Regions from separate parts of the Homo sapiens genome. Here region 1 is linked to region 2. Evidence: promoter capture Hi-C in human tissues and cell types (Jung and others, 2019). All regions are on one chromosome and are shown on one strand. The core of a region is centred on a gene start or on the middle of the fragment in contact, and the rest is flanking DNA. Distances in the headings are between cores, read along the strand shown. Region 1 overlaps LOC105375336 (a long non-coding RNA gene). Region 2 holds the start of VKORC1L1 (vitamin K epoxide reductase complex subunit 1L1).

Evidence for each region. The method cuts DNA at HindIII sites, captures the fragments that hold promoters and counts their contacts. A contact is called where the count stands out against the background at its distance.
Region 1: a fragment that was not itself captured here is called in contact with the fragment with the promoter of VKORC1L1 in region 2 in 1 of the 25 tissues and cell types used here (liver).

What each region holds. Positions count from the first base shown.
Region 1 is chr7:66,028,710-66,034,766 of GRCh38, forward strand. It overlaps LOC105375336 (a long non-coding RNA gene), which reads right to left. Exons shown (of 5, transcript XR_002956511.2): 3 at 2,791-2,827. Among named protein-coding and RNA genes, the nearest start is that of ASL, 44 kb to the right of the region's middle. The HindIII fragment of the contact is 3,671 bases long and covers 3-3,673 here.
Region 2 is chr7:65,869,350-65,875,292 of GRCh38, forward strand. VKORC1L1 (vitamin K epoxide reductase complex subunit 1L1) reads left to right here and starts at 3,725. Exons shown (of 3, transcript NM_173517.6): 1 at 3,725-4,216. The coding sequence starts at 4,023. RefSeq lists silencers at 3,417-3,476, 3,497-3,996, 3,710-3,889, 4,437-4,506 and enhancers at 3,572-4,123, 4,675-5,226. The HindIII fragment of the contact is 24,487 bases long and covers 1-5,943 here.

The sequences.
Region 1 (6,057 bases), core at 588-3,087, 160 kb after region 2:
ATCTAAGGTCAGTGGTTTTGAAGGATAAACAGGAAACTGTAGTACTTCCTTTCACCCGCCCATTACGCAGCTTCCAATTCTTGGATTTGAGCAAATATGAGTCCCAGAGGCATATGACATTAAAAAAATGCTCTTTTATATAAGCCAAATAATCCAAATTCATTAATTTACCTAAAATATTTCAAATATGGCCAGGTGCGGTGCCTCATGCCTGTAATCCCAGCACTTTGGGAGGCTGAGGCGGGCGGATCATGAGGTCAGGAGATCAAGACCATCCTGGCTAAAATGGTGAAACCTCATCTCTACTAAAAATACAAAAAATTAGCCAGGCGTGGTGGCAGGCACCTGTAGTCCCAGCTACTCTTGAGGCTGAGGCAAGAGAATGGCGTGAACCTGGGAGGCAGAGGTTGCAGGTTGCTGAGATCACGCCACTGCACTCCAGCCTGGGCAACAGAGCAAGACTCCATCTCAAAAAAAAAAAAACAATTTCAAACATTTCCTATGAATATACACATCACTAATCTCCTCTGATCTCAAAAATATACTATTTGAAAGCAAATTTTCTTAAAACAAATATTTTGTTAAAAAAGAATTCTGCTTCTCTAGTATAAAAATCTAACATAGGCCAGGTGCAGTGGTGCACACCTTTAATCCCAGCACTTTGGGAGGCCAAGGCAGGCGGATCACGAGGTCAGGAGATCGACACCATCCTGGCTAACACGGTGAAACCCCATCTCTACTAAAAATACAAAAAAAATTAGCCGGGCGTGGTGGCGGGCGCCTGTAGTCCCAGCTACCCGGGAGGCTGAGGCAGAAGAATGGCATGAGCCCGGGAGGTGGAGCTTGCAGTGAGGCGAGATCATGCCACTGCACTCCAGCCTGGGCGACAGAGTGAGACTCAATCTCAAAAAAAAAAAAAAAAAAAAAATCTAACATAATAATTTCTTTCTGGAAAAGAAAAATTTTGAAGCAAGTGATAAGACAGAGTTTACCAAAAAAAGGGGAGGAAAAAATGCTATGGATTTTTAGAAGCAAACTTTCCCCACAAGGATAAAACATGCATGCATTAGAGTGCTGGAGGCAGGGGGGAATCTCAGTCTCATTCCTGTTTTAGAGATTCTACCACAGAAGTGAAGAAAATGCAGGCTCACACACCATCACTAAATACAATGCGACCCCTCTCATCTGCTGTTCCTTTCAGAAATAGTGGCATGAGATCAATGAATGCAATGTTTCCCCAATGGATAAAACACCCAAACGCCTAGCAAAGTCCAAACTGGACAAGGAGGCTCCTAAAAGCCAAAGGCTTGGCCAAAAACCATTCAACCATTTCCTTCCTGTTCTAAGCTGCAACCACTTGAGACTGAGCCTTTAGAGAGGAAAGAATATGGCCAACTCTGTTTATTCTACTACCTTCTTTTCTTTTGGGGGGATGTGGAAGGGAGGCGGTTTCTTTCTTTTTGCTGTCTTCCACTCTGGGAGCTTTTTTTAGGGGACAGGGTCCCAAAGGCTGTCTCCCAGGCTAGAGTACAGTGGTCATCACTGTAACCTCAAACTCCTGGGCTGAAGCAAACCTCCCCTCTGCCTTCCAAGTAGCTAGGACCATAGTAGGTGTTTGCTACCATGCCCAGCTAATTTATTTTTTTAAGAGCTGGGGGTCTTGCTAGGTTTCCCAGGCTGATCTCTAACTCATAGCCTCAAGCAGTCTTCTCTCCTTGGCCTTCCAAAGTGCTGAGATTACAGGCATGAGCCACAGCACTTAAGCTACTACCTTCTAGACCTCCTCTGAGTCTTCCTGAGTTTAGACTCTAGCACATGGAAAATTCACAGTCAAGGTATAAATGGTTCTTTCTACACCTGGAGTGAGCCTATCAGATGGTTTTGCTAGTGCCAAATAGGAGGCAAAAATGCTGGAATATCTTCCGTCTTACCAATCTTTTTCCTTCTTTTCCTTTCCCTGGGAACCCCACCCTAGGCCCCAAAAATTATAAATTTGTTAATTTCTACTATTCAGAAAGGTGAGTCAACTAAACTCACTTTCAAAATAACAATGTTAATACCCAAAAGACTATTTGAAGATTAAAATAACAATGTATAAAAGCATTATAAATATATAAATATATCAAGGGTGATAATTAGGAAAAAGCATAAATATTTCAATGGGAAATTTTGCAGAAACAGCTCTAAAATAGATGCTTCTATCCTATGACTACATCCCAAATGATTATCTAGAATCTTTGAGATTTACTGAAATTTGCCTGCTCTGAATTAGAGTCTTCCCAGCTTCCCTGAAGTACTACGTATACGTATAACATATAAAGCTTAGACTATTCCAAGGTCCACTAGATGGTGCCACATGTCTTGTTTTGAAGTGGAAAATTCAACTACATCCTTTTTTTTTTTTTTTTTTTTGGAGACAGAGCCTGGCTCTATTGCCCAGGCTGGAGTGCAGTGGCGTGATCTTGGCTCATTGCAACCTCCCCCTCCCAGGTTCAAGTGATCCTCCTACCTCAGTTGGGATCCCAAGGAGCTGGGACTACAGGCACGTGCCACCACAGCTGGCTAATTTTTGTATTTTTAGTAAAGATGGGGTTACACCATGTTGACCAGCCTGGTTTCGAACTCCTGACCTCAAGTGATCCATCTGCCTCAGCCTCCCAAAGTGCTGGGATTATAGGCGTGAGCCATTGCACCTAGTCTGAATTCAGTCATTTCTAACCAAAATCAATTCAACAATCTTACAAGCAAAGGGCAAATTATCAGAGAGGAAAATGTAACAGTTCAATTTACCACGTAGTTACTGAGAAGCGCAGAATCGACATCCTTCCTGAAAAAGAAAAGTAAGTTATCAGTCTGGGCTCACACCCCTTTCTGGGTATCAAATATCTGTAAAAGAATTCCCATCTGCCGGGCGCTGTGGCTCACACCTGTAATCCCAGCACTTTGGGAGGCCAAGACGGGCGAATCACATGGTCAGGAGATTGAGACCATCCTGGCTAACACAGTGAAACCCCGTCTCTACTAAAATGCAAAAAATTAGCCAGGTGTGGTGGCGGGCGCCTGTAGTCCCAGCTACTCAGGAGGCTGAGGCAGGAGGATGGCATAAACCCAGGAGGCGGAGTTTGCAGTGAGCAAAGATCACGCCACTGCACTCCAGCCTGGGCGACAGAGCGAGACTCCGTCTTAATAATAATAATAATAATAATAATAATTCCTGTCAAGTTGGGGGCCAGGCACGGTGGCTCACACCTGTAATCCCAGCACTTTGGGAGGCCGAAGCAGGCGGATCATGAGGTCAGGAAATCAAGACCATCCTGGCTATCATGGTGAAACCCCGTTTCTACAATCAATCAATCAATCAATCAATAAAATACAAAAAAAAATCAGCCGGGCGTGGTGGCAGGTGCCTGTAGTCCCAGCTACTCGGGAGGCTGAGGCAGGAGAATGGCATGAACCGGGGAGGCAGAGCTTGCAGTGAGCCGAGATCGCGACACTGCACTCCAGCCTGGGCAACACAGAGAGACTCTGTCTCAAAAAAAAAAAAAAAAAAAAAGAATTCCTGTCAAGATGTAGTAGTCCGCTTTTAGAATTTGGGGACTACCACCTAAAACTGAAACTGAGAAATGTCTTAAGTCCAACATGGTTTAGCTAGCTGTGGGCAATTTCAGAGCAGACTTGGGAACAAAGTGCTGTCCCATCCAACAGCCATGTCCTCTCCCCATTATTATCTGCCTCCCATCAGCTATTGACATCTTGGGCAGCCACGTCCTCCTGCTGAATCAACAGAAATGGCCCACTTAACACCAATGTCACCACTGGGAATTCCAGCCATGGGCAAGTATCCTGCCAAATATCCACCATGCTCCCAGGGTGTTCACCACCTACGTCAACTCAACAGGTACAGTCAGGGTGGCAAGCAGTGGCCAAAAGCCTGGTTCCCTGTGTAACAGTTAATCCAGGCAATATGCCATCTTTCCTGAGTGAAGAAACAACAATGTGATGTATATTAAATCACAATCGATCCACTCTACAATAGCATATCAGAAAGCATTGTTTTCAGCAGTCTGCAGGCAGTGGAGTATGACAAAGAATATAGTTTTGAAATCAGATTTGGGTTCACATTCTAGCTCTGCCATTTATATGCTGTGAGAGTTTTAGTTAATTACTCCCTAAGTTTTCCTTCTAAACTAAAAATGGGATGAAACTAGTATCTAAAAGTGTGGCCTGGATTTCAATCCAGCTCTTGCATTCTTTGGCTATGTGAATCTGGGCAAGTTACTTAATCTCATTATGCTTAAATTTCCTATCTATCAAATGGCAATTATAGTATCAACCTTGTAAGACTGTTCACAGGGTTCACTGGAAACATGTAAAATACCCGGAACATATTAAGTGCTCAATAAGCACCAACGTTATCATTACTACTACCTGTGCAACTACCACTACCACCAGCTCCTCCTACCTCATCAAACTGTTATGATGAAGTGAGACAACAAATTTTAAAAGTTTAGCACAGTTCTTGGTACTTGTATTAACATCTCCATAATGGAAGGTTATTATTTTTAAAAGATATTATCTCAGTTAATTGTCATTAAAAACCCTATGATGTAGAAGCTATTCGTATGATTCCTACTCTATAGACAGGAAGCCAAGGTTCAGAAATTAAATAACTTGCTCAAGGTCACACAGTAAGAAGTCTAAATAAAGTGGAAGGCAACTATGGAGTTGTGGGAAATGAGACTGGACTGGATGAATGGAAACTGGTAATGCAGAATCCTGAAAAATCAGGTAGAGGGGTCTGTGCTTGACATATTGTGCAACAGAGACCCCTGTATGTCTTAAACCAGGAGTGCAGTGAGATGATGCAAATGATGACCCAAGATTTCAAAAGCATGGGCCAAACAGATAGTTGATTTCCCAGTCAATAAATAAAGCAAAACCAACAGTGGTTCACACAGGGCTCAACCTAGGCCTTAGGTCATCAGCACAGTGATGTCAGCACTGTAATCAAATCAGCTCTGTGAAGCTTACCAAATGCTACCAGTGATTCAAGCTACGATTTCACAAAAGTGCTGCTTTGCCCAAATGACCACAAACACACTGAAGTCACAAAGAGTATCATATTTGAAAGGAATCTAACACAGGAAAGACAATGCATAATTAGTGCATGTGACAGAGCTCATTTAAAATTGAAAATGACAAATCAAACCACATGTCATCTTTGCCTGCTTAATCAGGAAATCAGCCCACTGGCTTCCTCCTATCTTTGCTTGAAATTGAGTTATAACTCCCTGTGCTCTCCAAAATATGAGGCGTTAAGACATCCCTTCCTGGAATAGTTAACTGGAGAAAAAATATGAATATTGTTTCTCTTCAGGACCAACGGATCCATCCCAGGTGCACCGTTACAATTTCATTTCCAAATCATTGCCCCTTCTCTGTCATTCAGAATATTGCACGCTCTGCGAAAATTTGTCCTTGGCCATTCCAAGTTACTATGCCACTGAAAAAGTCAATACTGTAATGTAAGAATCCAAAGAACATTCTTTGCCTCTTCTAGAACAAATATAAAGGAGGAAAACTCTCTTTCACATAAGTTTTAATGAATCTGTGTTTTGGGATCAAGAGAACAATCGATGTTTACACAGGTACTGCATTTTGCAGACTCTGGCTGACAGAAACTGATTTATTCATTGATTTTCTTTTATCAGCAAGATAATTGTTTTTAACCCAGCTAAATACTCTGACAAAATGCCAATGTATGCTAGGCCCTTCTTTATTTAACAAAAGGTCAAGAGGTACCTTATCTACCTTTTTATGAAGTCCTAAACGGGCTGTATGTGTTGTGGAATTTTTTTTTAAGGCAGTTTTTACCCTTGAGAAGTTACTGTAACCACACTAAATGACAGGTTGTTGGCAACAGGATATGGTGAAACCAGACAGACATCAACTTAATCAAGTTATCCAATTTCACAGCACCAATAATGATGTGATGCATGAGAAAGACATCCCTCAGAGCAATCCAGCCCCAAGATGTTTAATTCAAATCTATCCATG
Region 2 (5,943 bases), core at 2,475-4,974:
AAAGCACACGGGATGGCAGAACTTGTTGCAGCCACCTTGGAATATAGAATTTGCCACAGAGGGCAAGTAGAAAAGTATGTCAGAGTTTAAGATTTCAGAAATCTAGCCATCCAAAAGGATCATAAGAGCCATTCCTGTGGCGGCTTTGGGGAGTGGATGCAAAGGTCATCAGAGCTGAGAAAGACGTGGGATGATGAGTCAGGCGAATTGCATGCTCATCCACATGGATGCTGACATCCTCAGGAAAGCAGAAGGACTTCAGATAACAGAGGGCAAAACACGATTTCATTCTTTTTTTTTTTTTTTTTTTTTTTTTTTAGAGACAGGGTCTTTCTCTGTCACCCAGGCTGGAGTGCAGTGGCATGATCATAGCTCACTGTAGCCTTGAACTCCTGGGCTCAAGTAATCCTTCTGCCTTGGCCTCCTGAATAGTTAGGGCTACAGTGTGTGCCACCACGCCTGGCTAATGTTGTATTTTTATTTTTTGTAGAGATGGGGTCTTGCTATGTTGCCCAGGCTGGTTGATAACTCCTGGCCTCAAGCGATTCTCCCACATTGGCCTCCCAAAGCATTGGGATTACAAGCGTGAGCCACTGTGCTCTGCCTCAAAACACTCTTTTAAAAGCTTTTGTTTTTTTTTTTCTGTAGTGGTGAAATAATTAACCTCTGTGGTGAGGACTTCCTTTTTATTTGGGAAAAGATATTTGCTGTGGGCCTATTGTTTCTGCAAAAATACTAGTAGCTAACATTTTTTGAGTGTCCATTCATTCATTCATTCATTCAAAATATATATATGGGGGCCAGACATGGTGGCTCACACCTGTAATCCCAAGGCCAAAGCGGGTGGATCACCTGAGGTCAGGAGTTCGAGACCAGCCTGACCAATATGGTGAAACCCCATCTCTACTAAGTACAGAAAAAAAAAAAAAAAAAAGCCAGGCGTGGTGGTGCATGCCTGTAATCCCAGCTACTTGGGAGGCTGAGGCAGGAGAATCACTTGAACATGGGAGGTGGAGGTTGCAGTGAGTCGAGATTGCATCATTGCCCTCCAGCCTGGGCAACAAGAGCAAAACTCTGTCTCAAATTTAAAAATAAAAATAAAAATAAGTGAGGGCTTATGAGGCATCAAAGGTCATTTATAGAATGTTGTTAGCAATTTAATTCATGATAGCTAAAAATGGGCCAGATGTCCATCCGTAGTAGAATGGACACGTAAAATTGTGGATATCTAATATAATGGACTATTATACAGTAATGAAAAATAACAATCACTATTCACAATAGCATGGGTAAACCTCCCAGACCTATTGATGAAAGAAGCCAGATGATCAAGAGATCTCATCAACTGAGTAAAGGAATCTATAAGAAGGGAAGTTGCAGGAGTCTACTTAGATTTATTAAAATCATTAGGGATGTAGAGTGAGGTTTTTGTTTTTTGTTTTTGTTTCTTAATCAGTGTGTCATTCTGTCATCCAGGCTGGAGTGCAGTGGGGCAACGTTGGCTCATTGCAGCCTCAATCCACACCCCTGCCCCAAGCCCTCTGGGCTCAGTCAGTCCTCCCAAGTAGCTGGAACAACAGGCATGCACCACACCTTGCTAATTTTGTATATATTTTTGCAGAGACCAGGGCTCCCTATGTTGCTCAGGCTGGTCTTGAACTGCTGGCCTCAAGCAATCCTCCTGCCTCAGCCTCTCAAAGTGTTGTGAGCCACCCCACCTGGGCAGAGCAAGGATGTTTTTGAGGACTGTGGTAGATAGCTTCCTCATATTCATGTCCTGTGTAATCCTCTCCCTCTGAGCATGGGCTGGACCTAGGGACTATTTTCTTTTTCTTTCTTTCTTTCTTTTTTTTCTTCTTTTTTTGAGATGGAGTTTTTCCTTGTAAGCCAGGCTGGAGTGCAATGGTGTGAGCTTGGCTCACTGCAACCTCCACCTCCCAGGTTCAAGTGATTCTCATGCCTCAGCTTCCCAAGTAGCTGGGTTTACAGGCATGTGCCACCGCATCCGGCTAATTTTTGTATTTTTAGTAGAGACGGGGTTTCACCATGTTGGTCAGCTGGTCTCGAACTCCTGACCTCAGGTGCTCTACCCACCTCGGCCTCCCAAAATTCTGGGATTACAGGTGTGAGCCACCATGACTGGCTGGACCTAGAGACTATTTTCTAAGTAGCAATAGACTTCGTAAAAGTGATGGGATGTCACTTCTGGGATTAGGTTTCAAAAAAGGACTGTGATCTCACTCTCATTTTCTTTTTCTGTCTCTTCCTCTTTCTCCTCCCTCTCCCTGGGGTAAGCCTGCCGCTTCTTACCAAGAGGTGCAAGTGGACAGGAAATGATGTCTCCAGCCAACAGCCAGAGAGGACCTCAGGCCTGCCAGCAGCAGTGGAAGTGAGTTTGAAAGAGGATTCTGAAGCCTTGAGAGAGCTGCAGCCCTGGCTGACAGCTTGATTGTATCCTCATGAGAGCCTGAGCCAGAGGACACAGCTAACCTCACCCAGATTCCTAGCCCGTGGAAACTGTGAGGGAAAAAAAAGTTTATTGTTTATTAACTGCTAAATTTGGGGTGATTTTTACCCAACAATAGATAACGAATACAAGGATATTGCTTATTATTCAAAATCACTATATAAAGCCCCTGAAAAATTGAAAGCTGCAACCAGGGAAACACTGAAAATCTCCAAGAACCCTGTGTTTCTTCTTAAAGACAGTGAGAAAAAGCACATACATCTGTTTTCCTTTTAGTTTTGGCCACCAGGAAGCTCAGAGCCAAATTTATGATGCAATTTTAATAACTATGTAAGCCCCTATGGCCTGCTTATCTGTGTTCTTATTCCTGGCCTTTCATTTTATTCTGACTTTTCTTTTTCTTCGTCCTGATTGTATTAGCTCATCTTTATTTTTCTATATTATATGAGTTATGGTAAGCAACTTCAAATTCAGCTTACGGAAAAGCAAGGCATTCGTAAATCTCTCTTTTTTTTTTTGAGACTCTTACTCTATCGCCCAGGCTGGAGTGCAGTGGCACGATCTTGGCTCACTGCAACCTCCACCTCCCGGGTTCCGGCAATTCTCATGCCTCAGTCTCCCGAGTAGCTGGGATTACAGGCGCCCACCACGACACCGGGCTAATTTGTTTTTGTTTGTTTTTTGTATTTTTAGTAGAGACGCGGTTACGCCATGTAGGCCAGGCTGGTCTCGAACTCCTGACCTCAAGTGATCCACCTGCCTCGGCCTCCCAAAGTGTTGGGATTACGGGTGTAAGCCACTGTACCCGGTCCATAAATCATTTTTTAAAAATAGTTTTTAAATTTAAAACATAGTTTTGCACATTAAAAAAAAAGTTTTGCACAGGTCTAACCGAAGGTGGTGGTGGGAAGATCAGGTCATAGGTGTGGGTCTCTGGAGCTCCAAGCATTGGCCAGGGTTGATTTGGATTGGGTCAGAAATATACAACGAAAAAGGGAAAAAGGATGGCAATTGATTGCCATCCCCAGAGGGAGGGGCCGAGGGTTCGCCCAGTCACCCACAGTGGCATCCTTGCAATGTGCTAGTTAGACCGCTCCTTTAAGTCCCTCCCGCACTGGCCCGCTCGGCCCCGCCCCTCTCTGGCTCCGCCCCTCCCCACCCCTGCCCCGCCCATCCCCACCCCTGCCCCACCCCTTTCTCCCCCGGGCTCCACCCCTCGCGCGCGACCGGCCGCGCGGCGCAGCGCCACGCCGCCTCAGTCTCCGCCCGCCGATCCGGCCTCTTCGGCCGTTGCGCACTCCACCCCCTCCCTCCGCGCCCGCGCGCGCCTTCCCCGCCCCGTCCGCCTCACTCCTTTTGGGGCGGTTGGGCCGCGCGCCTGTGGGGGCGGGGCCCGGAGCAGGCCACCGAGCCAATGGGGCGCGGCGGCGGCGGCGGCGGTGGTGGCGGCGGCGGCGGAGGCGGCGGTGGCGGCGGTGGCGGCTGGGTCGGGCCCCGACGGGCGGCGGCGGCTGAGGTGGAGGCGGAGGGAGGCGGCGGCGGCGGCGGCGGGAAGATGGCGGCTCCCGTCCTGCTAAGAGTGTCGGTGCCGCGGTGGGAGCGGGTGGCCCGGTATGCAGTGTGCGCTGCCGGAATCCTGCTCTCCATCTACGCCTACCACGTGGAGCGGGAGAAGGAGCGGGACCCCGAGCACCGGGCCCTCTGCGACCTGGGGCCCTGGGTGAAGTGCTCCGCCGCCCTTGCCTCCAGGTAGCCGGCTTGGGGGAGTGGGCCAGGAGCGGCCGAGCGGGGCGAGGGTGGAGTCTCGGGGTGGGGAGCGCGCGGCGGGAGCTCAGGCCTGGGGGCGGCGGGGACCGGGCCGCTGGGGAACTGACGGGGTCGGGTCGGGGCCAGGCGGGGGGCGGCGGCGGGGCGCTCCTGCCCGGGGGGCGGCCTGAGCCCAGGCCGCGGGGCGGAGGTGGCGGGGCCGCGAGGCAGCCGGGGAGGGATGAGGTGGCAGAGTGCAGCCGGGAGGCCGGGGCGGACGCGGAGCGGTCGGGCGGGCTGGGGCCCGGCTGTGCAGGAGCGCGAGGGGGCTGCGGAGGGTGGGTCCAGGCTGGCTTGACAGGTTTCCTGGTTCTCGGGAGGCGGGCCGGGGGTGTGGGACCTTGTCCACCGCACCCTTGAGACCAGCGGCAACCTCTTGTCCCCCCGATCGCTGCAGCCGAGGCTTTGGGGCCGGCGCGGAGACAGGGGGGTTGCCTTTCCCACTGTCTTCCTGGTGCTAGGACAGGTGTTTCCGTGGTCAGGCCTCTTTGTACTCCAGCGCTAGTGAGAATTTGCAGACTTAACTGGGACGGTGACATTTGCTGGCAAACACGAATTTGACCCTACTGTGGAAGAAGATACCCGCACTTAACATATCTGATTTCTTGGATTCCCTCTCGTATGTTTCAGTGTGCCAGGAGAAGGAAATGGTCTGAGTTTGGGTCTAGTTTAAGCTTCATTGGAGTAAAGGACAAGTATGTTATGTATATGGTGGTGTTTTAGGCATTGGAATGACTTTTAAACGTTGTTGCCTATTAGCATATTCGAGACCAGCATATTGGTCAGGCTGGTCTCGAACTCCTGACCTCAGGTAATCCACCCACCTCTGCCTTCCAAAGTGCTGGGAATCAAGCATGAGCCACCGCGCCTGGCCTGCTTAAGTGCTTAAAATTGACTTTTCTTGGCCGGGCACAGTGGCTCACGCCTGTAATCCCAGCACTTTGGGAGGCCGAGGCGGGTGGATCATGAGGTCAGGAGTTCAAGACCAGCCTGGCCAACATGGTGAAACCCCGTCTCTACCAAAAATACAAAAATTAGCTGGGTGTGGTGGCATGTGCCTATAGTCCCAGCTACTCGGGAGGCTGAGGCAGGAGAATTGCTTGAACCTGGGAGGCAGAGGTTGCAGTGAGCCAAGACCACACCATTGCACCCCAGCCTGGGCAACAGAATGAGACTCCATCTCAAATAAATAAATAAAATATAAATAAATAATTTTTAAAAATTGACTTGTCTTTAAAAAAGTGTATTTAGCATACACTCTAAATATTCTCATAGTTATATCCTGCAAGAGCTGCATGTTTGTGCATAAAACATCAAGTAGTATATTAAAAGTATGTATAAGTACATGTAAGACTAAAGGTAACTGGATCTCTTTATAGTTTTAAATGTGAATTTAATATGTTGTGACTGAAAGTGATGTTTCATTGTGTAGCTGTGGACATAAAATAGTTTAACTTAGATGCTTGCCAAAGGAGGGTAGGTAAAAATAAGATTTGCTAATAAGAAGAGTAGATAACTTATTTGCCATGTATACAGTGAAATTAAGAAATTTGTTCAATTTGATCAGCCTGTTTATAAACTACTTGCAAAAATCAAGTAGCTTATAAACTACCCATTTAATAAATGAATTTACAAATCAACTTGTTTTGCAGGTAGTTTATATGCAGGCT